Regions from separate parts of the Homo sapiens genome. Here region 1 is linked to region 2. Evidence: promoter capture Hi-C in human tissues and cell types (Jung and others, 2019). All regions are on one chromosome and are shown on one strand. The core of a region is centred on a gene start or on the middle of the fragment in contact, and the rest is flanking DNA. Distances in the headings are between cores, read along the strand shown. Region 1 overlaps SNAP91 (synaptosome associated protein 91). Region 2 holds the start of SNAP91 (synaptosome associated protein 91).

What was found. The method cuts DNA at HindIII sites, captures the fragments that hold promoters and counts their contacts. A contact is called where the count stands out against the background at its distance.
Region 1: a contact is called between a fragment that was not itself captured here and the fragment with the promoter of SNAP91 in region 2, in 1 of the 25 tissues and cell types used here (adrenal gland).

The regions. Positions count from the first base shown.
Region 1 is chr6:83,656,282-83,662,564 of GRCh38, reverse strand. SNAP91 (synaptosome associated protein 91) reads left to right here. Exons shown (of 30, transcript NM_001242792.2): 4 at 143-218; 5 at 961-1,063; 6 at 3,473-3,566; 7 at 5,700-5,811. Among named protein-coding and RNA genes, the nearest start is that of SNAP91, 50 kb to the left of the region's middle. The HindIII fragment of the contact is 4,020 bases long and covers 1,981-6,000 here.
Region 2 is chr6:83,706,539-83,712,975 of GRCh38, reverse strand. It overlaps SNAP91 (synaptosome associated protein 91), which reads left to right and starts at 3,875. Exons shown (of 30, transcript NM_001242792.2): 1 at 3,875-4,131; 2 at 5,019-5,178. The coding sequence starts at 5,049. It overlaps LOC105377879 (a long non-coding RNA gene), which reads right to left and starts at 3,534. Exons shown (of 3, transcript NR_136251.1): 1 at 3,257-3,534. RefSeq lists silencers at 3,603-3,662, 3,993-4,202, 4,612-4,906. The HindIII fragment of the contact is 7,193 bases long and covers 474-6,437 here.

The DNA.
Region 1 (6,283 bases), core at 2,741-5,240, 51 kb after region 2:
ATTCAGCATTCTAGGAAACTTTATAACTGAGTAAAAGAGATCCCAATGAGAATTTGTTAAAAAAAAAAATCGCTTTAGTGTCAGAAATTGTTTAAAAGTATGATTTTAAAATGTGTGTTTAATTCTAATTTTTGTTTTTCAGAGATTTATTCAATATTTGGCTTCTAGAAATACACTATTCAATCTCAGCAATTTTTTGGACAAAAGTGGATCCCATGGTGAGAATATTTGTATTTTATAATTTTTTGCCAATGCTTTGATTTTTGAAGTGAGGCTATTAATCCAAAATCATTGCAACTGATAGCTTCATTGAATATTTAAGAATGTAAAAATAATTATATTTAAATATAGCTTTAAAATATTTAATTATAGACAACTCAGCATATAAAATATATATTAAGTTTATTTTGGGCGTTTTTACCACGTTTACCTTAAAAAGTAACAGTGGGTGTGCTAGACCCACAGTTGTTTTTTATGAAGGTACAGGAGACAATGAAATAAAAGATGTCTTCTCAATTAAAAAAAGTGATTCGAGTCTTAAAGAAATGTTTTGTGTGGATTAATAGGGTTTGAACTGCATTCATTTGTTCATTTATCATATTCACTGTTTATCTGTTGTGTGTAAAGCAAGCACATCAAGCAAATGGAACATTATCAGATGGCTGCATGAATTAAGTCTGAAACTGGCCATTATTTGAAAAATGAACAAAAGTTCAAGGAAAATTTAAAAACATATTCTGTACTGGAATGGTGGAATAAGTAATTGAAGAATCCTGGAATGCCTCATGGCAAAAGTATTTTTGCCTAGAAGCAGGATTTTAAATGAGATCTATCTGATACAGTTATTGACCCTATCCTAGGACTATCACCATTTAGAGAGTTAAAAAAAAATAGTACTATGCAAAGCACAGTTGAAGGTATTTTATTAATTAGTTTTATTTCTTCTTTCCACTCTCCCAGGTTATGATATGTCTACCTTCATAAGGCGCTATAGTAGATATTTGAATGAAAAGGCTTTTTCTTACAGACAGATGGCCTTTGATTTTGCCAGGGTGAAGAAAGGGTATGTTTTTGTCTTTCTTATATTTATTAGAGGAGAATAAGTCTTTGAGGCATACTTGATTTATTTTAACTAAGCTTAAATGCCAGCTAATTTTCTTGAAGGCCCAGTTTACAATAACCTAAAAAAAGGAACTCAATAATATTGTAGAAGTTAGCCTTGAAGTTGCAATATGCATTATTTTGTTTATATCTTCATGCAGAAAAATCTGATTTGCTTCTCAGTTTATATGCTATAAAATTTTTTTCTTCTCTCTAATCCCAGGACAAATTATATAACATTTTATTTGTTAAAAACTCAAAATTTTTAAACATGTATATACCTTTAAATAATTTAAGAAGGAGGGAATTAAGACAAGATTCACTTAAAAGTATAGTGGCTGTAGATGACAATAGCTATTTGGCCTGGCACAGTGATACCTGTAATCCCAGTACTTTGGGAGGCCAAACTGGGAGGATCATTTGAGCTCAGGAGTTAAAGAACAGCCTGGGCAACGTAGGAGTTAAAGACCAGCCTGGGCAATGCAGTGAGACTTTCTCTCTACTAAAAATTAAACAAATTAGTCAGGCGTGGTGGTGTGTGCCTGTAGTCCCAGCTGCTTGGGAGGCTAAGGCAGGAGGATTGCTTGATCCTAGGAGACTGAGGCTACAGTGAGCTATGTTCATGCCCCTGCACTCCAGCCTGGGCAACCCTGTCTCTAAGACCCTGTGTCAAAAAAAAAAAAGATGGAAAATAGCCAATAGCTATATAAATATTTTTTTTTTAATTGAGGTGAATCTGAACTTTGATCTGGTTTTGAGAGACGTATCATTCTAGAAAACACATATATAAACACACACCATAATCAAACTAATTGTTAATACTACCAATTAAGAAAACCTCATTGAAACAGAAACACTTGAATTTTATCTATAATTACCATTTATTTCCCTCTAAATAGATGCATAAATCTAGTCAGAGGCATTCAGCCACACATTTGTGCATATCTTATATCTGTTCCTCATTTGAAATAATGGCAAGGTACTATAGCAGCTTTAATATTTTAGTCTCAAGAATCCACACAAAAAGATGTAACTTTATTTTTGCAATGGCTAACCTGACCTTAGTTTGGGGCTACTTTTTTTACCATGGTGGTGAAAAACATCAACTTGCCTATTCAAAATAATTTATTGTAGATGAATACTTTATAAAAGTAGGTGTTTTCCTTCACCCTCTTCTCACGAGAGATGATTCTAGTTCATATGCCTTCCTCTAACTTCTTACATGGCACCATGCAACCATTGCTGATGTTCCCAGCTGCATTGTGACCTCTGCAGTAGGTCCATGGCCTTCCTAGAAACTTCTGCACCCCTGTATGAACACATATGGACACTTCAGGTTGCTTTCTCCACTGTTGGTCTGGGAGAGACCCTGAAAGTTGCCATGATCAGCATGTCCACATCATCTGGGTATTTTCTTCAGCTATTACAATACTGCTGCTCCTCAACCATCACCATCACTGGATACAAGGGCTTCCTAAGAGACCTGAAGGTGGAGACAAGGTGCAGTGCACCCTCCGACATCAGCATTAACCTTCAGTCTCATCTTCTGTAGCTAAACTCTTACCTTTGTTTGGGAAAAGTGTTCTTATCAGCATGCATTTTTCTTCCCTTGATGGTTAATAGCATAAACCTTGTACTCCAAGTCATACAGGTTTTATAAACTTCCAAGACATGTTTTCTCTTTCTCAAAAAAAAAGAAAAAAAAACTGGCTTTTTTGAAAGCTTATATTTTGATTGGGCAAAGTGGCTCATGGCTATAGTCTCAGCACTTTGGTAGATCATGGAGGGAGGACTCTGTGAGGTCAGGAGTTTAAGACCAGCCTGGGCAACATAGTGAGACTCCCATCCCTACCAAAACAAATTTTTTAAAAATTAACCGGGTGTGGTGGCATGCACCTGTAGTTCCAGCTACTCATGAGGCTGAGGCAGGAGAATCACTTGTGCCCAGGAGTTTGAGATTACAGTGAGCTATGATCATGCCATTGCACTCCAGTTTGGGTGACAGAGTGAGACTGTCTCAAAAAAAAAAAAAAAAAAAGAAGAAAACATACTTTTCAACACTATTACCTTTATTATAGATTTAGAAAAATCCATTCATAAATTCAGCTTGCCTCTTTTATCCAGACCCGATTGCTTTCTTCCTAAGGGCAGTACACATAGAAAACAAACAAGCATTGCCTGTGCAATGGAGGAATAAGAATAGATAATAGATAGAGGGGGGAAATGACTACAACCTTGTAATACCTCAAATTGATCCCACAGGATTAATAAGGAAATGGGGTGGTGTGGGGGAACAGCTTAGAACAATTCATATGGTCTTGAATTGTCCATATCCAATGAAATTGTACCTTTTTTTTTTTTTTAATTGTAGGGCCGATGGTGTAATGAGGACAATGGCTCCCGAAAAGCTGCTAAAGAGTATGCCAATACTACAGGGACAAATTGATGCACTGCTTGAATTTGATGTATGTATCTCACTAGAAAATGTTTCATACACAATCAATGTTGTCTTTCATTTGAAGATGGGCTACAGGTAAATCCAAAGATTTCCTCGGGAAGCAGCTATAGATCTTCATTTAGATGAATACTTAGTTCAGGCTGTTAAGCTCGGTAAAGATTATTTAGGTTCCCCTGATTTTTCTAAGCAGTTTACCAGGTGTTTACATAAGTCATGGAAAAATATGAATGGTACATTCTTGGAACTTCATGTTCTGAGCAGGATAGTGACTTCCTATTGTACTTGACAGGATGAAGTATCTGCAAGATGTGCCTTCAGGCAGTTAAATAACTTGACCTGCTGTTAGAAATCTTTTTTATTTTTTATTTTATTTTATTTTGTTTTATTTATTTATTTTTTTGAGACGGAGTCTCACTCTGTCACCCAGGCTGGAGTGCAGTGGCGCGATCTCCGCTCACAAGCTCTGCCTCCTGGGTTCACGCCATTCTCCTACCTCAGCCTCCTGAGCAGCTGGGACTGCAGGCGCCCGCCACCATGCCCGGCCAATTTTCTGCATTTTCAGTAGAGATGGCATCTCACCATGCTAGCCAGGATGGTCTCGATCTCCTTACCTCATGATCTGCCTACCTCGGCCTCCCAAAATTCTGGGATTACAGGCATGAGCCACCACGCCTGGCCTAGAAACCATTTTATGCAGATTGCTTAAATGACACTATCCACCAAAGAATTGTGTTTAATCTTAGATAAATTAGTGAATTGTTTCATTGTCAATATCCTGGTTGTGATATTGTACTATAGTTTTATAGGATGTTACCATTAGGATAAACTGGGTAAATGGTATATGGGAGCTTTCTGTATTCCTTCTTACACCTGCATGTAAATTTAGAGTTATCTTAAAATAAAAAAATTAATTTTGAAGAATCTTGAGGCTGGGCATGGCTCACGCCTGTAATCCCAAACTTTGGGAGGCCAAAGCAGGCAGATCACTTGACAAGGTCAGGAGTTTGAGACCAGCATGGCCAACATGGTGAAACTCTGTCTCTACTAAAAATACCAAAAAAAAAAAAAAAAAAAAGCAAGGTGTGGTGGTGCATGCCTGTAATCCTAGCTACTTGGGAGGCTGAGGTGGGAGGATCGCTTGAACCTGGGAGGCAGAGGTAGCAGTGAGCTGAGATCATGCCACTGCACTCCAGTCTAGACGACAGAGTGAGACTCTGTCTCAAAAAAAAAAAAAATCTGAAATCTGATTCATGAAAGTAAAATATTTTGACATGTAGAGACATTATTAACTCATATTGTTCAGCCTTTTTGTATTTTGGTAGTTGCCTACAACAAAGATTTTCCTCAAATTTTAGTAACTTAGCATCTCTGTTAAGATTGTATGGTTTAGTCTATAATTAGGTGCTAATCACAACACCTAACTCCTGTGAAATTTCATAAAAGCAGCAAACCATCTTATTTTTTAACAGATTTTATGATAAGGACTTCACTAAGTATCTGTCGAATTGCCTTTTAGCTTTTATTTTCTTTTTAATTCGTTTATTTTTCTTTACTTTCCTTGACCTTAGTAAGGGTTCTGTCTTAAAAGAGAAAGTCATAAAGGGAAAAAGAAAAGGATTGAGGAGTGGGGAGAAATTATGTGCCTTTGTGTTGATGATTAGAGTAGTTTGGAATAGGTGAACAGTTATGAGTCTCTAGAGTTATTTTAGAGGTAGCTGACTAAGGTATTCCCCATGCTGTTCTTCCACACTGAGTCATTGCAGGCCCCTGGAGCCTGAATCCTTTCACAGAAACTATTAGATAGGAGAAGTGGAAGAAATGTAACATAACAGTAAAAGTAACAAAACACCAGATTTTCAAAAGTTAAATTTGAATAATCTATGGATTAATCTATATAAACACATATATATATAATGCATATATCTGTCTTTTAATCGATAAGACTAACCTCATTGACTTAAATTGAAGCAAAAACATATGTAGTCCATCTTTTGATATTGGTAGGGTTACTAAATGAATTACCAATGTTTGTAGAATATTCATGAATTTCTTAGTAGTCATTTGAGACATTTTAATGTGATTCAAGAAAAATTAAGACTTAATGATATGCCGCTAATATTAAATTTTTCTGTTTTTCTAGGTGCATCCAAATGAACTAACAAATGGTGTCATAAATGCAGCATTTATGCTTCTTTTCAAAGATCTTATCAAACTTTTTGCTTGCTACAATGATGGTGTTATTAACTTACTCGGTAGGTGGAACAACCGAAACATGTCTGGGCTGATGGGATACACAGTAAGATTGATGAATTCTGTGGGGTGAGTCTGTTGTCTCACTTGGTGGGCAATATTGTGTGGAATATCATGATAGTGAGTAAGTCCACAGATGGTGGTACTGGCAGAACGATATGGGCAGAGATGGTAAATCCATATCTAGGGTAACTGGGTGCTAATCATAGTGTAGACAGATTGCTGCTAACCACCCCTAGTAAAAGGAATTAATCCTCAACCTGTTACTTGGTGGATGGCTGGTGTCCCTGGCCTATCGTGTTATGATGAAAGCTCAGTGTTGATCCAGGGTGTTGGCCAACTGAGGACTCAGCAGTGATGATAGGCATATAAGCCTTGGCGATGGGAAGCCTATGCTGTTTAGCCTATTCATAACCTCCATTTCTGATATATACCCACTTCCTATAGAGTTCTCTTAGCCGCCCTCTGATTAGA
Region 2 (6,437 bases), core at 2,626-5,125:
TTACAGGAATGAGCCACCGCGCCAGCCTCAATATGTATTTTTAAAAAGCAGTTTGGGGTGTTTATTATAATTACCCTATTTTCTGACCACTGAGATCAAAGATATTTCAACTTGTAAAATATTAAATGTCAATTCTTATTCTTGCCTAAGATTTATTGAATATCATTTATTACGTTCCTGTGCCTTCAAAGAGAACATGTCAACAAGTAATTTTTTATCTCAATATATTTCTTTCTTTTAGTCTATTTTCTTTCTTTCACTTTAGTATATAACATTCATGGATGTAACTCTAGATTTTCCTGGCTGTAAGAAGCCAGCATCTCCAAATCTTTGCTACTGAAAATATGCTACTATTTTCAACGCTCATTAAGATCTTCCAAAACAACCCACATTTCATATATTGGTTCCATCCTTGACATTATTTATTGATTATTTATTATAAGAATATGATACTTCTATAGTTGAGGGATTTTCAAACATTCTGCTAACACTATGTCAGGATGTTTATGTGTGGGATATTCTCCCATGTATAGTACCAGAGACATGGGTAGCATACCAAGAATAAGCTCTGGCTTCAAATACTTCCCAGTGTATTGTATGTAACTGCACACTATTATAGGATTGACTTTGAATCCATTCCAATCTATTTTGAAAAATAAATCATTCACAGATTGCATTATTTTAATTATTATTGGAAACATGTTATTTGCTCAAAACCTCTTAACTAATAGCAACATATGTGACATTACATCATTATTGGACTGTTGGAGAACCATTATTTTATACTACTTCCTCATTTTATGTAAATTGTCCAACTTATTGCACAATGTTGTTTATAACATTCTCTAATTTTTTAATGTCCATAGAATTGATTTCTCCTTTCACTCCTAAAATTGGAAATTTTTGCCATCTTATTTTTTCCTTGCTCAATCTGGCTAGTGGGGTTATCCATTTTGTGATCTTTTCCAAAAAATGGCTTTTGGTTTAATTGATTTTATCTATTATTTGTCATTTTCTCTTTCATTGATTTGTACTCTTTATTACTTCCTTCTTTCTGCTCATGTTGAATTCAATTTATTCTTTTTCTAGTGTCTTAAGGTTCAAACTCAAATAAATATTTTTAGATCTTTCTTCATTCCTAAGCATTTTAATGCTATAAATTTGCCTCTAATCACCACTTTGCCTGCAACCCACAAATTTTGATATGTTGGATTTTCATTATTATTTAGTTCAAATAAATTTCCAATTTTCTTATGAGAAAATTAGACCTATGGGTTATTTGGAATGTGTTGTTTAATTACCAAATATTTAGAGATTTCCATATATCTATCTGTCACCGATTTTTAGTTAAATTCCACTGTGGTAAGAGAACATAATGTGTATGATTATAATCCTTTTAAATTTATTGAGACTAGCTTCATGGCTTAGGATCAGTCAGTATGGTCAATCCTGGAGAATATTCCATGCACACTTTAAGAAAGTATTCCACTACTGTTGGGTGGACTATTTTATAAATGTCAATTAGGTGAAGTTGGTCTGCAGGACTATTTCTTTCTTTTTTTTTTTTTTTGTGAGACAGAGTCTTGCTCTGTCACCCCAGCTGAAGTGCAGTGGCGCGATGTCCGCTCACTGCAAGCTCCGCCTCCCGGGTTCACGCCATTCTCCTGCCTCAGCCTCCTGAGTAGCTGGGGCTACAGGCACCCACCACCACGCCCAGCTAATTTTTTTTTTTTTTTGTATTTTTAGTAGAGACGGGGTTTCACCGTGTTAGCCAGGATGGTCTTGATCTCCTAACCTCATGATCTGCCTGGCTCGGCCTCCCAAAGTGCTGGGATTACAAGCATGAGCCAACCGCGTCCGGCCTACAGGGCTATTTCAAGTCATCTATACCCTTACAGGTTTCCTGTCTACTTGTCCTATTTATTACATAGAGAAAAGTGCTGAAATCCTGAAGTATAATTGTGGATTTGCCTGTTTCTCCTTTTAATGCTATTAGGTTTTGCTTCGTCCTACTTTGAAGCTCTGTTCTTAGATATACAAACAAGTAGAATTGTTCCATGCTCTTAATGAATTTTTCATTATGAAATGTGCCTGTTTATTGCTATTAATATTCCTTATTGTAAAACCTACTTTGATATTAATATTGCCACTCCCAACTCTATCAGATTATATTGAGGTATAATTAACAAACAACAAAATTCGCCAATTTTAAGTGTACAAATTGATGAGTTTTGAGAAATACATGCAGCTGTATAATCATCATCACCGTCACGATATAAAACATTTCCATCTCTCCAAAAAGTTTCCTTCTGCCCCTTTGCAGTCCCCTCCCCCAATGCCACCGTCACCTGACTCGGCACCTGATGTGTTTTCTGTTTCTATAGTTTTGACTTTTCCAGAATGTTACATAAATGAAATCAAAATAATAAGTAGAATTTTTGATAGAGCTTCTTTCCCTTCGTCTAATGAATTTGAGATTCATGAATGGTATTAGTTTGTTTCTTGTTATTGCTAAGTAGTATTCCATTATGTGGATATACCATATTTTGTTTATTCATTTACTAGTAGAATAACATTTGGCTTTCCTCCAGTTTGGGGCCATTATATTAAGCTGCTATAAAACTGGAGTACAAGTTTTTTTAATAGAATTGCGTTTTTATTTCCCTTGTAAATATGGTAAGACTAGTACTTGAGACAATAGTGCTCTTAAGCTGTCTCTCTTTAGTCATTAAGCTTCCAATTAGTCCTAGAATCAGTCTCAGTAGTTAGGAAATCATGACTGCATACTGAACACTGTACCAGGTGAAAGAGAGGAATATATAACAAAACGTTGAGATCGATAGGTATCGATATATGGCTTCAAGGCCGAGCAGAAGCCACCCGAAGCAAGGAGAAAAAATGCCAGGAAAGCTCACAAATATAGTTTTGATCTTCATGCTACTGTGAGAATTAAAAAAAAAGGTGAACATAAATAACAACCTTTGAAAATGTCAACACGTGAAGCTATTAACCAACTCCACATCCCTGTTTAGAAATTCCTGCTTACTATTCGAATATACACTTGACATACAATTGACGGACGTTCCAACACTATATTTAATTGGCAGAAATTACTTCTTAAGGGTACAAAGGGTTTTCTTTATGCACGCAAATGATTACTGTCGAAGGTAATCTGGGACTCGATTAACGGCTGTGTTAATTATTCTCCCTTCAGCAGACCTCAGTATCCGTTTAAGACTAAAGTGGCTAGAATTACCTGCCCACCCGGGCTCCCAGTTGTAACTGAGACAAGCGGAGGAGCCTGAGGAGCTGAAGACGCACAGGTGACGGTCGCGGATGGCCGGCAGGATCTGACATTTAAAATCGCCCTGCTCATCTGGGCCTCGGAGCCTTTGACAGGCGGGCGTGTCAGCGACAGTGTGGGGAAGGGGCTGGGCTCCGCCAGGCAGCGCGCGACGACGCCCTTGCCTTGGCCTTCACAGAGTAGAACCCGAGAAGCCCACTCGCCCGTCTTGGCCAACGCCCCCAACGCCCAGGGCTCCCCCCGCAGTCGGCGGGCAGGTGTGCGTGGTGCGCGAGCCCAGTGCGTGCCGGGTGCGGCGCCAGCAGCGGAGGGGCGGCCCGGCGCCCAGCGGAGAGCCGCTGGCTGGGTGGGTGTCGGCCTCCCCGCCTCCTTCTTCTCCCCGCCGGCTTGCCGGGGATGCTTGCGCGAGGCGCCCCCTCGCCTTTAAGCTCCCGGCCCCGGGGGGCGGTGTGTGTGAGTAGCTGGGAGGGGGCCGCGAGGCGCTCCGCCGAGGGCTCGTCCGGGTTTGTCCGCCGCCGTCACCTGACTCGTCGGAGGAGCCACAGCTGAGGTGGGGGCGGGGATGGGGACGCAGCTCGGAGCGCTAGAGAGACGCGGCGGCGCTGGCAGAAGAGGCGGCGGCGGGCGGGTACTGGCTTCTGGGGCCAGGGGCCAGGGGCGGTGGGCGCCGGGACCGCGGAGCTGAGGAGCGGGGCCCGGCCAGGGCTGGAGACTTTGCGCCCGGGGGCACCGGGGCTACGCGCGGTCGCACACATCCACCGGCGCGGCTTCCCTCGGCGGCCCGGGCTCCGCTCATCCTGCGGCGGGCGGCGCCGCTCAGGGGCGGGGTGAGTACCCGCGGCCGTACTCGGCCCCCTCCCCGCGCCAGGGTCTCGCGGGGATCCGCAGAGGATAATCCCAGGGTGCGGAGAAGGGCAGCGGCCGAGTGACAGCTCCGCGGAGCGCTCCAGGGCGGGCGGGGGACTGGGCTTCGCTGTCAGCCCGGCTCCTCTCCAAAGCCAGGAAGGGTGAGGCGCCCCAAGACTCCGGCGCCTCCGCAGAGCTCCCGGGCGGCCCCTGCGGCAGGGATTTGGAACCGGGGGGAAGGGGCCCGGGCGATGGGCCTCGGCGAGGCTTTGGAGCCGGCGGCGAGGAAGGAAGGGGAGGCGAGGGCATAACATGGCGCAACGCTAGGATAATCTCCTTCGCGACTGAGGGAGGACGAGCCCTTTGCTGCAGCAGCGCGAGGAGGAGGAGGGAGGCAGCCAGGGCTTGGGTATCCGATGCATTCCCCGAAGCCTGCGGGCTGCTAGGAGGAAAGTCTGCTGAGGTGGGAGATGGGCACCGGTGGGTGCGGCGCCCAGGGAATAACCCCAACGCACGTTGTGGCTAGTCCAGCACCCGCGGGTCAGGTTGCGGGGAAAGTGCTGATTGACAGGGGGGTCCCCAGGGGGTGAGTCTGGCCCTATGTGGGGGCCGGGGGAGAATGGGGACGGTGTCACGATGCTGCGACTGGAGCCCACGCTGGGGTTCCGTGACGGCCCTACTCACGGCCAAGACTCCCTGGACCGCATCGCAGGAGCGGGGCTTGGCGCGTTGCTGGCTCCGAGAGGTGGTGCCAGGGTGGGGATGGAGGAGGAGAGAGCCGCCGCGCGGCTGGAGGAGGCAAGGCCTGGGTGCTTGGAGGGTAGGGTCTGCGGATTAAAGCCGGACCGTCTCCCCTTGTTTCCTGCAGAAGAGGAGGCGGTAGACGCGACCACAGAAGATGTCGGGCCAAACGCTCACGGATCGGATCGCCGCCGCTCAGTACAGCGTTACAGGCTCTGCTGTAGCAAGAGCGGTCTGCAAAGCCACTACTCATGAAGTAATGGGCCCCAAGAAAAAGCACCTGGACTGTAAGCATCTCTTTATATAAGAGGGACATGCGCACGGCAGAGGCGCCTGGGATGCTGGTGGTGCGGCCTGCGCTCTTGGTCCATAATGCTGTGGCCTCTGATACTCCCAGCCAGGTTGCCCCTGAGCTGAAATTCTTCAGCTGTGAAGGTGTTCCCTTGGGTTAGCCATGAAACCTTGTCTTGTGAGCCATTTTTTCCTCTTATTGACCTCCAAGGTCTTGGTGGAGGGGGAAAAATACACACACACACACACACACACACGCATATGTATATACACACACACAAGAGAGAGATTGTACACACTGAATTAGATGTTTTTCACCTTTTTTTCTTTCTCCACCCACCCTCCCTTCTCCAAATTAGAGGAAATTAGAGGTTGCACAGTCAAAAAAAAAAAAGATGAATTTATGGAAGGTCAAACTTGTCACCCTAGTTCTTTCCTAAATACATTTCAGATAGTTCTAAGGTAGTATAATCTTTTTAAGTGTTGCTCCTGAGGATTGTTTTTGTGAGTATGGGTGTGTGTGTGTGTGTGTGAGGTATGTTACCATACCAAACTGAAATAAATTCAAGGTACTGAATGAGGAAATTGGACTTCATAGCTATGGCAATTTCATTTTACACATCCTGGCACACTTTGTCCCATTCTCAGAAAATGCTGGGTGAGATGACTATGCTATGGTCACAAAATGGATGTACTTCCCCAGCATCTGAGATGGTGCAATTTTAGATGAAACCGTTTAATTCTTAATATTATTTTTGTAACTGGTTATTTGATGGAAAAGGCTTTATTCTACTCTGGAATCTATATATTTCTGAAATACCTTAATTAACAGTAAATCTTTTGTCACCGAAGGATAAACAGAGGCACTTAGAAAAGAAAAAGGCTTTCACCTGCTTTGGGTGGTGAGGTTTCTCATAAGTCAGGCTATATGAGTGTATGTTCAGCAGTTGCTATTTAGTTCTCTTGACCTGCTTAGGATCTTCTGTTCTATTGTGATGTTTTTGGTAAAGGTGAATGTTGGCATGAGAGACACAGGTATGGCCACAGCCATTTCCTCAGCTGGCTTCCTTTGCCCATCTTCTGGGTTTTTTTGGTCTTGGGTCTTTTTCCTGCTATTTCCTTTGTGCAGCTAAGAAAATGGCACCAGTGTCAGAATTCACTCTAGCCCTATTATCTGCATAAGCGAAGCTTGATGAAGCTTACAACTGGACATTGTAAGAGTTGTCCAGCCTTGTGAACCTGTTGTCTCATAGAA